Linked DNA regions of Homo sapiens: region 1 is linked to region 2. Evidence: promoter capture Hi-C in 16 types of primary human blood cells and fetal thymus (Javierre and others, 2016). All regions are on one chromosome and are shown on one strand. Each heading gives the region's core, a stretch centred on a gene start or on the middle of the fragment in contact. The rest is flanking DNA. Distances are from core to core; before and after follow the strand shown. Region 1 overlaps KIAA1671. Region 2 holds the start of PIWIL3 (piwi like RNA-mediated gene silencing 3).

What was found. Contacts are between HindIII fragments. The CHiCAGO score rates a contact against its expected background, and 5 or more counts as called.
Region 1: a fragment that was not itself captured here is called in contact with the fragment with the promoter of PIWIL3 in region 2 in 1 of 17 cell types (M0 macrophages); the score reaches 5.2 in M0 macrophages.

The regions. Positions count from the first base shown.
Region 1 is chr22:25,069,830-25,072,529 of GRCh38, forward strand. The region is part of intron 6 of KIAA1671; the gene reads left to right. Among named protein-coding and RNA genes, the nearest start is that of KIAA1671-AS1, 42 kb to the right of the region's middle. RefSeq lists an enhancer at 1-344. The HindIII fragment of the contact is 2,931 bases long and covers 1-2,700 here.
Region 2 is chr22:24,773,312-24,776,011 of GRCh38, forward strand. PIWIL3 (piwi like RNA-mediated gene silencing 3) reads right to left here and starts at 1,409. Exons shown (of 21, transcript NM_001255975.1): 1 at 1,011-1,409. The HindIII fragment of the contact is 5,025 bases long and covers 1,036-2,700 here.

The sequences.
Region 1 (2,700 bases), core at 75-2,574, 300 kb after region 2:
ATTTGGGCTCACACGCACAGCACACAGTCAGTCCACACATGCACAAAACACACTCGTATGCACACATGCACACATACTTGACTCCACGTAAAAGCATGTACACACACACTCCTTCATGCATAAACACACACACACACGCGTGCACACATTCAGTTCCCGGGCATCACCTTCTCTCTTCTTGCCTTCTTGCCGTACAACTGAAAACCCTAAAACCCTCCGTGCCTACGGCTCCCGGGAGGGTGAGGGTCCAGGCAGCTGGGTTCAGAAGGATCCACCCCTGGACCCGCCCCACTGGACGAGAAGCCAGAGATGCCCCGGGCGGGGCTCATAGGACCGAGTGGTGGCTTCTCAGTTCCCCAGGCAGCCGTGGCCATTAGTGGAGCCGACTGGCTGGTCCCCTGGCCGTGAGCCGGCTTCTGAATGATTTATGCCGCCTTGAACTTGACTCCAGCGTGACAGGAGTGAGAAGAGCCGCTCCCGCTAGAGGAAAGCTGGAAACCGTACTGTGCTCACCACATAACCTCTGGGTGCTGGAAATGGAGTATTACTACTGCCCCAGCCTGCTGAAGCTCTTGCGCTACCTCTGGGTGAGTGGCGGGGGGCAGTGCAGGCTCCAGGACGGGGTCACGTCCTTTCCCTCTCCTCCTGCTTCCTGTCAACTTTGCTTTTTGGCTGTGTCTGGTTAGCAATGTCTCTGTTTTCTTTAAGAAATGGTGGAGGTTACAAGGAAGAGAGAATGTTGGGGAAAAAGGAAACGGGCTTGGTTTGGGAGGTAGCACAGGTTTGTAGGAAGAGCTGAGACTCCTGAACAGGAATGAAGATCCTGGATCCGATGTGGGCTTTCCTCCAGTCCTCAAGAAAACAGGAAGAACGAGAACCACTTCAGTGAGTTTTTCAGAAAGCAACATTTATTTGATTTAAAGGACTATTCTTTATTCTGAAATTACATCCCTCTTGCCTCTGTGTGTGTAAGAATGTCTGTCTTCTATGGGATGAAAATAATAGATTTTGCTTTCCTTTTCCTGAACCTACACAGTGATAGAAGAAGTTGGGACCCCTTCCCCACTAACACTCACACTGTGCTGTCTCCTCTGGATAACAGAGGAAAAAAACCAGAACATTTTCTGATGAAATGCCAAAGTCAGGGAAGCTGTGCAGAAGTGCTTTGTGAGGTATAAAATGCTTTCAGGTCTCACTTTGACTTCGCAACTGGTCTGTTTTCTGTGCCTGGGCAAGTTACTTCTCCTCTCTGGGTTTCTGTTTCCTCCTCTGTGAAATAAGGAGTGGGTGTAGGTGATTCTGGGTTGTGTGACATCCATCAGGGCTCTGGGAATAGAGGGACTTACCGAAGAATTGTCATGGGCTGGTCTCAGAGTTTTCCAGAATATTTGCCACTGGTTTCAGCACACCCAAAAGGGAAAGTCTTAGGAAATATTATCTTTCCCATTGCTGAGTGTTTGCAAATACTTCAGATGCCTTCTTGCCCAGAGAATTTTCCAGCGCTCCTAAAAATACAACTTTAGGAAACATTGCCTTTTAGCCGCCAGTCCCAGAGTGTCTCACCTCCCTCCTGAGCCCCCCAGAGCAGTGGGGAAACAGGAGATCCCCCCAGTCCATATTGTTCAATCATTGGCCTATGAACATTCTTATATAATAAATGTAAGGCAACATTGATTGATTGATTGATTGATGTTTTAATTACAAAAATAATGCATGTGCATGGTAAAAAGATATGGAAAATTCAGACAGGCACAAAGAAGAAAAGAAGTCTCCAATAATCGTATTTTTGAATTGTGTGGTTTGCAAGGTCTGGATAACCTTGATGTGCCTGGCTGCGTGTTGGGCTCTGGGCTCCATGCTGGAGATGCAGAGATGACTAAGATACAGTCCACGGTCCCCAGAACTTAGAGCTTGGCATAGGTGTTGAACTCATTGACAAATGGCTACGATCTCATGTTCATTCAGCACACACTTACCAGCAGTAGTTTGGAGCTAGCGCCAGATACTTGGAATATAGGAGCAAGACGGCATGGTCCCCTGACCGCATGGAACTTAGTCTGGTGAGAATTTGGACTTTGCTCAAGGAACTGAAACAAGGACCATGTATGTGTTAGGATGGGGGTGGTGCACAGTGCCTCAAGGGATATGGTCTCGTTGGGGTGCAGGGGCCAGGAGAGCCTCCCCAAGGAAGCTGAGTGCTGGAGGATGCCTAGGAGCTGGCAGTTGATGCTAGGGTAGGGGTCCAGGGAAGTGTGTGCCAGGCAGAGGGAACAGCATGTGCAAAGGGCTGGGGTGGATGTCAGAAAGAGCAAGAGCCCATGGCATGCCCATGGTACATTCCAGGTACTGGCCTAAGCTCATCCTGGCCAGTAGAGGCTGGGCAGTAATGCCCTCAGCCTCCTAGGGGCAGCTTTGTGGAGTGACAGAGTCACAGCTCCTCACCTGGCTGTGTCCCACCTCTCTAGTGACCTTGGGCAAGTCTTTTCCTCTCTGGGCCTTGGTTTCCCCATCTGGACCATGAAGAGGTAGGATGAGGCAGTTTAGAAAGTCTTTCCTAGATGTGATAATGAGAGAGATTTTCATTTGTCCGCTGCTTTCTGTGGGTGACCAGGTCCTGGGGGAGTGAGGAGCCACATAGGCCCACCGCTGGTTTTGCAAATTACCCACAATTTCTCTGTCTCTCTGAGTCACTGAAGACAG
Region 2 (2,700 bases), core at 159-2,658:
CCCTCTTCCCTTCTCCTTTTGCCAAAAGAATTCAGAAGATACCAACTTTCTCCTCTTTTCCTGTCTGCAGTGGAGGTCCCGGCAGGACCCCCTCCTGAGCTGTGAGGGTTAAATGGGAGAAGGTGTATTGAGCTTGAAGCACTGGCAGGTCCCACAACGAATGCTCAAAAAATGGAAGCCTCTGCCACCATCTGCATCATCCCCATCAACCACAGGAGCAAAGAGCCCGCCTTTTCTGAGAAGAGCATTTACATATTGATAGAAATTCCGCGGTTTTATTTATCATCACGTCAGTTTTAAGGATGTAAGTAGGTACACATATACATATGTATCTAAAATATATTAAGTTTTTAAAAGTAGGTTATTAAAGGATATGTACAAGACACTCTAGATTTTTTTTTTTTTTTTTTTTTTTTGAGATGGGAGTCTCACTCACTCTGTTGCCCAGGCTGGAGTACAGTGGTGCGATCTTGGCTCACTGCAACCTCCGCCTCCCAGGTTCAAGCAATCCTCCTGCCTCAGCCTCCCAAGTAGCTGGGACTACAGGCACCCGCCACTGCGCCCAGTTAATTTTGGTATTTTTCGTAGAGACGGGGTTTCACCATCTTGGCCAGGCTGGTCTTGAACTCCTGACCTCATGGTCCAGCCGCCTCAGCCTCCCAAAGTGCTGGGATTACAGGCATGAGCCACTGTGGCTGACCAAGATGCTCTAGATTTTTAAAATAAATATACATACTCCACATGCTCAAATATAAGCTGAATCTGTAACCCAGCAGCTTAGCAGCCTAACCTCAAACCGCATTTTAAAACTTTTTTTCCTTTCCCCTTTCCTCTCTTCTGCTAATCTGAAGATGTAACTTAGACAAAGTATAGACGTGTTTCCTCTCCTCTTGAAATCCAGCCTTGGAATGTGCTGTGAACCTCCACCCCCTTTCTTTTCCTGTTCTATGCCCCCATGCCTTATGCACATTTATTTACCTAGTTGTTTGGTAAGCACACACCATACTCACTTATCTGGTCACATATTTCCTTAGAAGCTTCAGTAGTCAGATCCTGATACGAACCATGCACCTCCTCCAGCCATGATGACGCCGGCCACTTCCACAGATGGAAAAATAATTCAGGACAAGCCACTGGAGGGGGTCACACCACCTGACACCTCCCAGTCCCCCTGCCTCTTTTGCCTTCCAAATCCTCCCTTTAAAAACCGCTTTGGCCGGGCGCGGTGGCTCACGCCTGTAATCCCAGCACTTTGGCAGGCTGAGGCGGGTAGATCATGAGGTCAGGAGATGGAGACCATCCTGGCTAACACAGTGAAACCCTATCTCTACTAAAAATACAAAAAATTAGCCGGGCGTGGTGGCGGGCACCTGTAGTCCCAGCTACTCGGGAGGCTGAGGCAGCAAAATGGCGTGAACCCGGGAGGCGGAGCTTGCAGTGAGCCGAGATCACGCCACTGCACTCCAGCCCGGGTGAAAGAGTGAGACTCTGTCTCAAAAAATAAACAAATAAATAAATATCTTAAAAAATAAAATAAAATAAATAAAAACCCCTGCGTTCATCCGAGCGCAGTGGCTCACGTCTGTAATCGCAGCACTTTGGGAGGTCAAGGCCGGAGGATCACGAGGTCAGGAGATGGAGACCATCCTGACTAACGCGGGGAAACCCCGTCTCTACTAAAAATACAAAAAATCAGCTGGGCATGGTGGCATGTGCCTGTAGTCCCAGCAACTCGGGAGGCTGAGGCAGGAGAATCGCTTGAACTCAGAAGGCGGAGGTTGCAGTGAGCTGAGATTGCGCCACTGCACTCCAGCCAGATTGGGCGACAGAGCAAGACACCGTCGCAAAAAACAAACAAAAAAAACCCCTGCGTTCTTTCCTCACGTGGAAGAGTGGAATTGCTCTCTGCTCTTGCCCTTGCTAGCATAGATTATAAAATTCTTTCTTTTTAAATCACATGTCATTATCATTTTGACTTCTTTCTACAAGCAGTGAGCAGCTGGGCCCTTTTGCTGGTTACAACATGAGTGACTGGGGCAAATACATCAATCAAGGTTTATCAAGCCAGATTTAGGTTGTTTCTGGGAAAAACACGAGCCAAACATGCACCTGTGGCTATTTTTCTGAAAAGGTTTTTCAGGAGATTTCCTATTTTTTTTAAGAAACTTTATTTTATTTTATTTTATTTATATCTCTATGTATTTATTGAGATGGAGTCTCGTTCTGTCGTCCAGGCTAGAGTGCAGTGATGTGATCTCTGCTCACTGCAGCCTTCGCCTCCCGGGTTCAGGCGATTCTCCTGACTCAGCCTCCTGAGTAGCTGGGATTACAGGTGCATGCCACCACACCAGGCTAATTTTTGTATTTTCAGTAGAGACGGGGTTTCATGATATTGGCCAGGCTGATCTCAAACTTCTGACCTCAAGTGATCCACCCACCTTGGGATTACAGGCGTGAGCCACCATGCCCAGTCGGGGATCAGAGTTTTTAAAAATGATTTGGTGGGTATGGGCTCAGGAAGTAGGGAGTGCTTATTGGTCGGGTTGGAGATGGAATCATGGGGGTGGAAGTGAGTTCTTGCTGATTTCTCTTCCTGGATGAGATCGCAGGACTGGTTGAGCCAGATTATCAGTCTGGGTGGTGTCATCTGCTGCATCGGAATTCAGGGTATGCAAAATATCTCAAGCACTGATCTTAAGT